Regions from separate parts of the Homo sapiens genome. Here region 2 is linked to region 1. Evidence: promoter capture Hi-C in 16 types of primary human blood cells and fetal thymus (Javierre and others, 2016). All regions are on one chromosome and are shown on one strand. Each heading gives the region's core, a stretch centred on a gene start or on the middle of the fragment in contact. The rest is flanking DNA. Distances are from core to core; before and after follow the strand shown.

Region 1 (6,463 bases), core at 2,511-5,010:
TAGCCTCCCAAAATGCTGAGATTACAGGCATGAGAACACCGTACCTGGCCTGTACAGTACTTTCAATAACCTTTGAGTAACTAGGGAAGGCATGAATTGACTTGTGTTCAGGATCAAAGTGAGAGATATTGGGACAAAAAAAAAGAAAGGAAAAAAAACCTGCTTTCTGGTTATAAAATGTAATTCTGTTTGATTAGCACACTGATGACATTGGAGAGTGTGTAATAACTAAGGATTATGATTAATCCAATTCTGTGCACCTGAGATCCAAAGAGAAAAGAAAAAAAACAAAACTCATGGAGCCTAGCTGTGAGTATCAGACTCAAATAAAAGTTGAGAAGACATTGGGAGGTTATCTCAGTAATGCCAACAACTTACAAATGAATTTTAGACTGGCCTCTTTCTTTTTTTTTTTTTTTTTTGAGACAGGATCTCACTCTGTCACCCAGGCTGGAGTGCACCGGTGCGATTTCAGCTCACTGCAACATCCACCTCCCAGGCTCAAGCCATCTTCCCAGCTGGGAATACAGGTGTGCGCAACCATGCCTGGCTAATTTTCATATTTTTTGTAGAGACCAGGTTTCTCCATGTTTTCCAGGCTGGTCTTGAACTCCTGACCTCAAGTGATCAGCCCACCTCAGCCTCCCAAAGTGCTAGGATTATAGGCATGAGCCATCGCGCCCAGTCCTGGCCTCTTCTTTTTAAAACTCATTTTTATTTTATTAAGAATAAAACAAATAATATACCATGAGTATATGTCAAAATTTAACATAAATTATATATCATAAACCAGCAAGTATTGAATTGTGGACTCACATCAATATGATGGTTGGTAAACATAACCTATATGTGTGTATATGATAAAAGAAATGAGTTGGGAGGCCGAGGCGGTGGATCACGAGGTCAGGAGATCGAGACCATCCTGGCCAGCATGGTGAAACCCCGTCTCTACTAAAAATACAAAGAATATTAGCCAGGCGTGGTGGTGGGCACTTGTAGTCCCAGCTACTCGGGAGGCTGAGGCAGGAGAATGGTGTGAACCCGGGAGGCGGAGCTTGCGGTGAGCCGAGATCGTGCCACTGCACTCCAGCCTGGGCGACAGAGCGAGACTCCATCTCAAAAGATAAATAAATACATTAATTAATTAAAATAAAATAAATAAAAGAAATGAGCTGGGTATGGTTGCTCATGCCTGTAATCTTAACACTTTTGGAGGCTGAGGTGGGAGGATCACTTGAGATCAGGAGTTGGAGACCAGCCTGAGCAACACAGGGAGACCTTCTGTCTCCAAAAAGGTAACTCTCTGCAAGCCTGACTGCTGAAACTGCCTCTTGTAAACGGAGACCAGTTTTATCTAACAACTGCTGAAACAACCTACTGTGACTCTAAGACTAATTTTACCTGCTGCCATCTCTCACCAATCCTAGCTTGCAAGCTCCCCCAAACCTTACTAAAACCAATAAAATTTCTTTCAAAACAACGTGTAACATTTCTCCTTTTTATAAAAGCCCCAACCTTCTCTTTGTACTTCAGATATATTGAAGACGCCCACCTGTCTCATCTGTGTGTATGCCCTGAATTGTAATTCTTACTTTCTAAATCAATTGCTTTAAATTTAGAGATTCATCTCTATGTTTTGTTTGACTTTGACGTAAGTATCACAGTAATTCTAGGCAAACATTGGACACCTTCATTATGTTTTCTAATATAGTTATGACTGAGTATTTAAAATATTCATGTGGACATTTTATTTTAAATAATTTCGGCCGGGCGCGGTGGCCCGCGCCTGTAATCCCAGCACTTTGGTAGGCCGAGGCGGGCGGATCACGAGGTCAGGAGATCGAGACCATCCTGGCTAACACGGTGAAACCCCGTCCCTACTAAAAATACAAAAAAAAAATTAGCCGGGCGAGGTGGCGGGAGCCTGTAGTCCCAGCTACTCTGAAGGCTGAGGCAGGAGAATGACGGGAACCCCAAGGGGCGGAGCCTGCAGTGAGCCGAGATCGCGCCACTGCACTCCAGCCTGGGCGACAGCGAGACTCCGTCTCAAAATAAATAAAATAAATAAATAAATAAATAATTTCATGTCTCCATTCCTGTTTGGTCATTATATTGATATTTTTGAAATTTCATGTGGAAGTAGCTTATATCATCTATAAATTTAATTCCATTAAATCAAAGTGGGTACTTGTAAATCAATTCCATCATAGGTAATTTTTTTAGTTTAATGTTTACGATTCTTATGGAGAAAGAAGTGTTTTTCATTTACCTTTGCATGGGTGCTTAAAATACACATTTCTATTTCAAGATGACACTGAAAAATTCTTCTAATATAACAGCAGCAAAAATGTAATTCTGCAATTACAAAAGTGCTAAACTGAAATCCATAATTAAGGTTTTCTCATGTTTACAATTGTGGTTCTTTAATCAATACTAATACTATGCAGGTCTGTTGTAAGGTTTCTAGATTCGGTTTAAACACACGCACACAATACTGTCAGTTGTAGGAGGCTTTACAAGTTATATTTCATGCACTTTTTTTTAAAGAGTTCTAAAAGAGCCAACCAGTCCACAAGACAGACAGAAAAAAAGTTAAATTAACTGGAGTAAATTGGACTCTTAACATTCGAAACATGCAAGATTCTGCAGCAAACTGGGAGTACTTCAGGATTGGCCTGCTATCTTCCTTAGTATTAATTTCATCTTAACAGTTTAAGAAGTTGGACATTTTAACACCATCAAGCGCATTTAGGTGACGTGTTTCTTGTGTGTTAACTTGGCTCCCCGGAATGATCTAGTTAGTGAACTAGTCACTAATAATTTGGTCACCAGGCAAATCAAGCCTACACGAAAGGAAGCGACTATTCAAAATACCGTAGTATCATCTGAACCTACCCAAATAATTTATGTTCAACATAAACATGTAACTTCAATAATGAGATGACTCATTAATGAGTCAAGCTCCTCCAACAAGACAAAGACAACATCTCTTCTTCTAAGGTTTAAGTTTTGCATAGAAATCCGGATACATGGAATAGCCCATACCAACAGTCATTGCTCCTACAACAAAGCTGGACTGCCACACGCATGTGGATCAGGTGACGTGATATTTTAGTATTTCCCCTGCTTTTCAATTTGTATAATCCGTATGCAGCAACTACTGCAAAACCTGCCATTCCAATGGGGACAAATGGTGCCTCTTTAGTTTTTCGAATCACTTTGGATCCCTGGAATCCCTCACAAGCCATCCAGCTTCCCCTACGGATATTTTTAGGAATGGCAACAGTGGCCAGAGATCAGAGGATTATATTATTAGGGTTATACAACTTTTATATAAAAAAAGTGGCTTCTGACCAGGCGCGGTGGCTCACGTTTGTAATCCCAACACTTTGGGAGGCCGAGGCAGAAGGATTGCTTGAGCCAGAAGTTCGAGACCAGCCTGGGCAACATAGATCAGAAGGCGAATAGAATAAGTCCGCTAGCTTTGAGATTCACATCTGTTCCTGAGGCTTCCTCACTGCTCCCCACCCTTCCTTCTTCAATCAGTCTAAGAGCTCCTGGAGAAATGGAACACCTGATTCAGTGAGGGTGACAAATAATTATGAGTATGTTCGTGCCAGGGTCCTCGATAGGATGGGGTGGGGGAGGTCAAGCCGCCTTGGCAGCTGGCCAGGCTCCGAACAGCAGATGGCGCTGTAGGGGGAGTCCCACCGGGTACGCCGGGCGCTCTGGCACTAGGGCGCCGGTCGTCTCCTCCGCAGCTTCCGGCACGGCCTTCAAGCGCGGGACGCGACAAAGTCATGGACCGCAACCCCTCGCCGCCGCCGCCGGGTCGCGACAAGGAGGAGGAGGAGGAGGTGGCCGGTGGAGACTGCATAGGGAGCACGGTCTACAGCAAACACTGGCTCTTCGGCGTCCTCAGCGGACTCATCCAGGTGTGGAAACTCGCGCCACGCGTGGGGTGTCCCTACATCCCCCAGGCACCGGGGCTCCGCCTCTGGCGAATCCTCCTGCCCCGGGAGCCGCCATCCCCACAAAGACCCCTCCCCAGGCGTGCGCTGCGGGACCTTGCTCCTTGCGTTTCGCCGGCCGCTGCGGACCCCAAAACTATCTGGGCCCCCTCGGGGTCTCTCGACACAAAGGGAAGTATAATGGTAGGGATGCTGAAATACTTGCCGTTCTATTTTGCTTTCCCAAGTTCTCCAAAAATACATGATCGTGTAACTGCATTCCTCGGGTTTTGCTCCCCATCCCCACTGTCATTTCTGAAGCCCAGGTCCTTAATTTATGTATTTCATGGACTATCGTTGTAATAGAATAAATGGTGACTTTAGGGTTATACAACTTTTATATTAAAAACGTGGCTTCTGACCAGGCGCGGTGGCTCACCTCTGTAATCCCAACACTTTGGGAGGCCGAGGCGGAAGGATCGCTTGAGCCAGGAGTTTGAGACCAGCCTGGGCAACATAGACCTGGTTTCTACAAACTTAAAAAAAAAAAAAAAAAAAAGCCGGTCGTGACGGTGCACGCCTGTAGTCCCAGCGACTCAGGAGGCTGAGGCTGGAGGATCGCTTGAGCCTGAAGTTGGAGGCTGCAGTGAGCTATGATCCAGCTTCTGCACTCCAGGCTGGGGGACGGAGTAAGACCCTGTCTCAAAAAAACAAAAAACGCAGCTTCCTTACCCACTAGCTGCAGGTCACCTAACGGCTCAGAACCTCTATTTGTCCCTTAATTTCTATAAAATGGGATTATAATATTTATATTATATATAAGGTTATTGTGTAGGTTAAGTGAGATTATAATGGCAACAGAGTGCTTAGCATGGTGTTTGGCTTATAGGAGGCTGTCAGTAAATGTGTTTTCTTCCCCCCATGTTTCCCTAATTGGTTCCTCTCCTCCTATTGTCTATCCTCTCCAGTCAATTTTCTACACAGCTGCCAGAATAATCTTCTTTAAAGACAGGGCTATTCATGATACTGCTCTTAGTTCTTTTTGCCTGGGAGAAAAATGCATGTTTCTTGAAGTTTGGAATCCAGGGCTGTTTGTACATTTTCCAGCCTCATCTTCTCATGATACACTGTGTTCCATCAACTCTGAACTGTTCACCATCCCCAAACATGCTAGGCCCTTTCTTAACTCTGAACTCTTGTGCTTTCCTCTGAATACTCACTTCTCTCCTTCTTCACATGACAAACTACTATTCTTCCTTTAAAATTTAGCTTAAATATCAGCACCTAAGGGAAGGTTCCCCATCTTCTCCTAGGAATAGGTCATTGGTCCATCGTTTTTGCTACCAGAACTCTTTGTCCACAATTCAGTTGAATCACTTTGCCTTTTCTAATATGACTATCCCTTTACATGTCTTTCCCCACTAGATCCTAAAAGTTAAAAAAAAAAAAAAGCTTAAATGTAAGGGATTATATCTTACTTGTCTTTGTATATCTACCCCAGTGCCTAGCAACAGTATTTACTTTGTGAATGTTGAAAGAGTAGATCTACCCAAGGTACTACATTTTTAAAAGAAGATTTTTGCAAGAGAAGATACTTTGCTGATAGCCTCTTTGTGACTTCTAAACGATTATGGGTTAATATTAAAGTAAGTGCTCACTTAACATCAGTAGGTTCTTGGAAATTGTGACTGTAAGCAAAATTACTGATAATGAAACCAATTTTACCATAGCTAATTGATATAAACAAGAGTTAAGTCCCTGTGGCATATTTCTGGACACAAGAACATCACCAAACTTCTAAATGAGGACCTAAAACACTTCTAATATTAAACATTGAGATAAATGTGAGCTATAATACGTTTAGGAAAGGTTAATAAAAACAAGATAATTATTCACCCAGTTTTGGTGAGTTAGTGAGTGATGGTGGTTGTAGTGATTATCACTACAACCTTTATTCTTTGATTGTGTTAAATCAAGGAATAAATGTTTACAAAGCAAAAATGATCACCTCTTACTACTGTACAGTCCAAAAACAATAACAAATAAGGCAGGCTTACTGAGCACTTTCCTACCACATAATTATTGTCACGCATCTCTATGGTTATTGTCTTCTTTACAGATTTTTGTTTTATAATAATTTGTATTCATCCATTTCCCAACCCACTTGCTCTGGTTCAGGGTTGAGGGTGGCTGGAGCCTGTACCAGCAGTTCAAGGTGCAAGGCAGAAACCAGCCCTGGACAGGATGCCATCCCATCACAGGTACACACACACCCACACTCACTCAGATTGGGACCATTTAGATACCCGTTGTGCTAATGTGCAAATTTGGGGGATGTAGGAGGAAACTAAAGTACCTGGAACAGACTCATGCACTCTTGGGGAGAACATGCAAACTCCACACAGACAGTGGCCCTGGCCAGGAATCAAATTTTTTTCTCATCAGCGTTACGAGGAAATGTTATTTGATCACCTGCTGTATTTGGGTACCTGGTTAGTATTGTAGACAACTTT
Region 2 (6,463 bases), core at 2,881-5,380, 460 kb before region 1:
GAAATAGAAAAAACAAAGGACATACTTCGGATTATCAGTAGTAGGAGTTGACATTTTACTTTGTGAACATTTATGTTATTTGCATTACCTGATGATTTAAATAAGATTGCCAGTTAAATGTGATGAATGGGGCATAATAAAAATTTGTCAGTTGGAAGGACAAAAATGGATCTTACTCTTAATTTTCAGTTGTTTGGTTATTTGAGAAATTGAAATCATTTTCATTTACTTATCAATCGTACGTTTCTTCCTTTTTGAATTGTCTGTTTCTCTCCTCCATCCATTGTTACACCCTTCTTTAAACAAAACAAAACAAAACTATCCTCGAGTAGTATTTTGACATCTGTACCATGTTGCAGGAATTCATGTATCCTGTTTCTTCTCTCTGGTTTTCATTGGCATCTCTTTTCATAATTTTGTTTGTTTAATAAATCCTCGGGGATAGTCTTATAATCTAGTGAAAGTTGTGTTTAATTTTAGTTTAGACAGTTCTGATTTTATTTTACTGTTCTGAGCCTCTTTATTATAAGCTAAAACTAGTCTCTTTTTTTGAGACAGGGTAATGCTGTCTTCACCCGTGCTGGAGTGCAGTAGCACAATCATAGCTCACTGTACCCTCAAATTCCTGGGCTCAAGTGAGTTTCCCACCTCAGCCTTCTGAGTAGCTGGGACTACAAGCATGGTCTACCATCCACTACTAATTTTAAAATTTTTTGTACAGACAGGATCTCCCTATGTTGTCCAGGCTGGTATTGAACTCCTGGGATCAAGGCATCCTCCCACCTCAGCCTCCCAAAGTGATGGGATTACAAGTGTGAGCCACAGTGCCCCCACTTAAAACTAGTCTTAAAAAGACATTACATTATTTAAATTGCCCTATTTAAAAGTACTGCAGCACCTTTAAGTTCCACATGCAGTTGGAATTATAATTATGTAGCATAATTTTATAGAACTTTGGAGCTAGAAGGAATCTAGAGGTCATCTAGGCCAGGGTTTGCAATTTCTCTGAGAGATTCAGAGGGCCGCGTTAGGCCTATGGAATTTGTTTGAACAGCACAGTTCGTTTTGTTTTACCTTGTTTTGTTTTGTTCTTAATGTAAATTTGAATGCCTATTGGCATGCTGTTTCCAATTTGCCACAATAACCGTCTCTCCAGATTTTCTTGTACTTGCCAGCTTCACACATTTAACGTTACCTGCTTGGTCCCCAAAGGTATTTGAATTCTTGGCCCTAATAGCCTCTTCTTACTTTATAAATAGTGAAACTCAGACTCTGAGAAATTAAGCACTTTTTAAATGAGCATACTACTAAATATTCCCAGGAATAATAATAAACATCTGTTTTACACTCACGGCGTATAGTTTGCATTCATTGACTCATTTATTGCTCATAACAACCATTTGGGATTTATTATTCACTTTGTATTACTGATGACACTGAAGCTCAGAAAGGTTAGTGAATTTCATCAAGGTTGCTTAACCAATTACATTAAAAGAATACAGTACCAGATTAGATACTATTAGTGTTAATTTTCTGATTTGATAACGGTTAAAAGGAGAATGTCTTTTTCTTTTAGGAAATATACATTAAAGTACTTAGGGGTAAAAGGACATCATGTTTGCAGTTTACTTGTTCAGTTTGTTCAGAAAAACTAGAGAGAGAAAGACTAAACAAGCAAATGTGATCAAATGTTAACATTTGAGTAATCTAGGTGAAGAGTATATGTACTATTTTTGCAACTTTTCTGTAAGTCTGAAATTATTTCAAAATGAAAAGTTAAAAAAAGGAGAGTTCCTAAACCTAGGTATTCGGCTATTAAGCATATTCATGCTATTTTTCTACTTTTGGGAAATGTTGAATTAGCATTTCTTCTTCCTTTATTTTTCAGTTAAAAGTATTCAGTAATTTTTCATGAAAAGCATTACAACAGTTAAAAGTATCATATAATGTGTATGATGATTTTTGAAAAATGAGAACATGATTGAATGCTTCTTTTTGACTAACTCTAAAAGAATGTATAGGTTAAAAAAGATTTTTTGTTTGTTTTGTTTGGAGATGAAGTCTCATTCTGTTGCCCAAGCTGGAGTATAGTGGTGCAACCATAACTCACTGCATCTGAAACTCCTGGGCTCAAGTAATACTCCTGCCTCAACAAAGGTAGTATTCTTCAGCAAAATTTTTGTGTAACTTTTCTGTTTTTTGTGTATTCTACAGCCTAAATCTGTCATTGTTGGATTAATTAAAGAAATGATTGCCAAGTTTCAAGAGGAACTTCCCATGTATTCTCTATCATCATCTGATGAGGCACGGCAGGTAGACTTGCTAGCCTATATTGCAAAAATCACTGAAGGTTTGTATATTTGTCAGGCAGATTATCTTGAGAGTTATGAGTTACCAGTTTCTCACTAAACTCCTTTACTTTCTGCCACTTGATTTTTATAAATAAATTTGTGTGCGTATGTACATCTGTTTTTGAAATAAGAAATTCCTGTGCCTCAGGCCAGGCGCAGTGGCTCACTCCTGTAATCCCAGGACTTTGGGAGGCTGAGGCAGGCAGATCACCTGAGGTCAGGAGTTGGAGACCAGCTTGGCCAACATGGTGAAACCCTATCTCTACTAAAAATAAAAAAAGTAGCTGGGCGTGGTGGCAGGTGCCTGTAATCCCAGCTACTTGGGTGGCTGAGGTGGGAAAATTGCTTGAATCCGGGAGGCAGAGGTTGCAGTGAGCTGAGATTGAACAACTGCACTCCAGCCTGGGCAACAGAGCAAGACTCCATCTCAAAAAAAAAAAAAAAAGAAAAAAAAAGTAATTCCTTTGCCTTTATCACAGGGTATTACCATGTAATTCCAATAAATATTATTTATTTTTTTATTTTTTTGAGATGGAGTCTCGCTGTGTCACCCAGGCTGGAGTGCAGTGGTACCATATGGGCTCATGCAACCTCTGCCTCCTGGGTTCAAGCGATTCCCCTGCTTCATCCTCCCATGTTGCTGGGACTACAGGCATGCCCAGCCAATTTTTGTATTTTTGATAAGAATGAGGTTTTGCCATGTTGGCCAGGCTGGTTTTGAACTCCTGACCTCAGGTGATCCTCCCGCCTTGGCTTCCCAAAGTTCAGGGATTACAGGCATGAGCCACCGGGCCTGGCCAGGTTTCTTAAAGTGTAAAGAATTGGTCTTAAACAGATAAAACAATTCTTGTTCAAAACCACTTGCTGTATATTAATGATCCCAAACTTTTTTTCATGATATGTATATGTGGCTTGTTGGCTTATTCAATATATTGGATCAGAATATCTATGATTCTCATCAAGAATAAAGGCAAATACCTATGTTTGAAACATTTGGTAAGGTGTTAGACATATTTTTTTATTGTAGACCAGAGCAATGAGTTGGAATATTTTTCAGAATTATGGAAATCCTACTTTTTTAGAGTCTTATACAATATTTTAAAAATGTTTAGAAAGATACATTCTCTTTAGAAGGATAATTTCTATTTAGTCGACTATTTAATAGGAAACGTCTGCCTTCCTTGCATTCATTTGTTCAGTAGTATTTTTTGCCCATTATGGACTAGCACCATATTTTCTCTCTAAGCTATGAAGCCTGCTATATATTTTTTTTAAAGATCCTAAAAAAATTCTTGATATTTTTGAATTCTCAGGATAATTCACCTTTCTTTCTAGGTGTTTCAGATACAAATTCAAAGAGCTGGGCAAATCATGAGAATAAAACAGTCAATAAAATTACTGTGGTTGGAGGTGGAGAACTCGGTATTGCCTGCACATTAGCAATTTCAGCAAAGGTATGTAAACATAGTGGTTATAAATACATCTATCATAGTGCCACACTTCTAGGCAGGTTGTGTTTTACACACCAAAAAATGCCTTCATTTTGTCGTGGGAAAACCTTATTTTGGCTTAAAATATATTTAGTAAGTTGACAAAAAAGTTGAAAGCTTTCATCAGTGATGTTGCCTTTTAATTAGTAGGTTTAAAAAAGTGATTTGAACAATGGGCTTATCCTCATCCAAGGGAAAGCTCAATTTGACATTCATATGACTTAATCACAAATTCTTTTGTATTTTCTGAATCATGCCACTTTAATTAAACTCATTTAATGTAGTAATTTTAGCTCTTTCTAAAATTGGCTTTTTTTTTTTTAAAGATGGCCTTTTCTTACATAATTACTTTCTTTTAGGATCACAGTTTCTGAGTTGATATTTAATACTAGTTTAGGGTTTGTTTTTTTCATCAGTCCTTTTTACTAGTGTCTGCATAAATTGTTTGCAGGAAAGCTTAAATGCCCTTCCAGAGAGGTTCAAAAGACCTGCCTGCCTCCCTCCAGAGCCTAGTATCATGATAACAGCATGTCTTTTGTCATTTGAGAGATGTAGCCCTGAATAGAATAGCTGTACCTCTATATATTTATTTGGTGGCTGGCATTAGTTTTTCTTTTCTATATATATTTGATTGTTTTGCCATCTAAATTCTTCCCTTTCCATTTAAGACTCACATATGTCTTGGAGGTGGGTTCTACTGCAGCAAATAATTAAATTATATCCATGGAGCTAGAATATCTTAAAAGCTGGCTGCTCAGAGTTAAATATGCCAACTTTTGGCATGCTGTAGTTTTATTTCTTTCACCCTCCATTTGAATACACTATCACCTCTTTTTTTTTTTTTTTTTTTTTAGGTGGAGTCTCGCTCTGTTACCCAGGCTGGAGTGTAGTGGTACAATCTTGGCTCACTACAGCCTCCGCCTCCTGGGTTCAAGCGATTCTCCTGCCTCAGCCTCCAGAGTAGCTGGGACTACAGGCATGCGCCACGACGCCCAGCTAATTTTTGTATTTTTAGCAGAGACAGGGTTTTGCCATGTTGGCCAGGCTGGTCTCGAACTTCTGACCTCAAGTGATCCACCTGCCCTGGCCTCCCAAAGTGCTGGGATTACAAGTGTGAGCCACCGTACCTGGCCTGCTATTACCTCTTAATTAGAATTTGAGTTGTATTCAGTCTTTTGTCACTAAATAAATGCTTCTATAAACATTTCAAGTTGCTTGTTTTCTCATCTGAATTTTTATTTGGTCATACATTATTTTATTTTATTTAGACAGGGTCATGTTCTGTTGCACAGGCTGGAATGCAGTGGTGCAATCTCAGCTTACTGCACCCTCCACCTCCCCAGCTCAAGCCATCCTCCCACCTTAGCCTCCCAAGTAGCTGGGCTTACAGGCGCCAGCAACCATCCCCACTAATTCTTGTATTTTTTTGTAGAGACAGAGTTTCACCATGTTGCCCAGGCTGGTCTTGAATTCCTGGGCTCAAGCAATCTTCCTGCCTCAGCCTCCCAAAGTGCTGGGAGTACAAGCATGCCCCACTGCACCCGGCCTGGTTGTACATAATTTTAAAAAATAGTACTAGTGAGTCAGAGGGCATGAATGGTTTTTATAGCACTTATGACATAGTGCCAGATTGCTCTTTGGAAAGGCAGAACTAATTTATGCTGCTAATAACATGCACATCAACCTGATTTTTGACATCCCTAACAGTACTAAGTTTTATTTATTTGTAATTATTTGTCTTTTTTTTTTTTTGGTAAGCACAAGAAGGCATCTGAAAGTCTGAAAGTCATGGTTTTTCATTTTTGTTTTTGAGACCAGGTTTCTCTCTGTAGCCCAAGTTGGCATGCACTGGTATGATCATGGCTTACTGCGGTCTCTATCTCCTGGGCTTAAGAGATCTTCCCACCTCAGCCTCCTGAGTAGCTGGGACCACAGGGGTGTGCCACTACACCTAGGTAATTTTTAGTTTTTTTGTAGAGATAGGTCTCCCTGTGTTGCCTAGATTGGTCTTGAACTCCTGGTTCAGACTATCTTCCTGCCTTGGCCTCCCAAAGTGCTGGGATTACAGGCATGAGTCACTGCTCCTGGCCATGTTTTTAAACTGTTAGAAGAATCTCACTGTCATTATTTGTCTGTGAATTGTCTGGGTGGAAAATTTGCCGTTTTTCAGCTGGGCCCGGTGGCTTACACCTGTACTCCCAGCACTTTGGGAGGCCAAGGCAGGAGAATCAGTTGAGCCCAGGAGTTTGAGACCAGCCTGGGCGACACAGCGAGATCCCCATTTCTACAAAAAAAATTTTTTTTTTTTTCTTTGGAGATGGAGTCTCGCTGTGTCTCCCAGGCTGGAGTGCAGTAGCATGATCTCAGCTCACTGCAACCTCCATCTCCCGGGTTCAAGTGATTCTCCTACCTCAGCCTCCCGAGTAGCTGGGATTACAGGCGTGTGCCACTACACCCAGCTAATTTTTGTATTTTTAGTAGAGAGGGGGTTTCGCTATGTTGGCCAGGCTGGTCTCGAGCTCTTGACATCAGGTGATCTGCCTGCCTCAGCCTCCCAAAGTGCTGGGATTACAGGTGTCAGCCACTGCCTCCACCCTACAAAAATTAAAAATTAGCTAGGTG

The links. Contacts are between HindIII fragments. The CHiCAGO score rates a contact against its expected background, and 5 or more counts as called.
Region 2: a contact is called between a fragment that was not itself captured here and the fragment with the promoter of SAAL1 in region 1, in 1 of 17 cell types (total B cells). The highest score is 5.3, in total B cells.

What each region holds. Positions count from the first base shown.
Region 1 is chr11:18,103,379-18,109,841 of GRCh38, reverse strand. It overlaps SAAL1 (serum amyloid A like 1), which reads left to right and starts at 3,760. Exons shown (of 12, transcript NM_138421.3): 1 at 3,760-3,935. The coding sequence starts at 3,801. It also overlaps the pseudogene HIGD1AP5. RefSeq lists enhancers at 3,555-3,604, 3,755-4,014. The HindIII fragment of the contact is 5,763 bases long and covers 1-5,404 here.
Region 2 is chr11:18,562,234-18,568,696 of GRCh38, reverse strand. It overlaps UEVLD (UEV and lactate/malate dehyrogenase domains), which reads left to right. Exons shown (of 12, transcript NM_001040697.4): 5 at 2,215-2,350; 6 at 3,687-3,805. Among named protein-coding and RNA genes, the nearest start is that of UEVLD, 23 kb to the left of the region's middle. The HindIII fragment of the contact is 339 bases long and covers 3,961-4,299 here.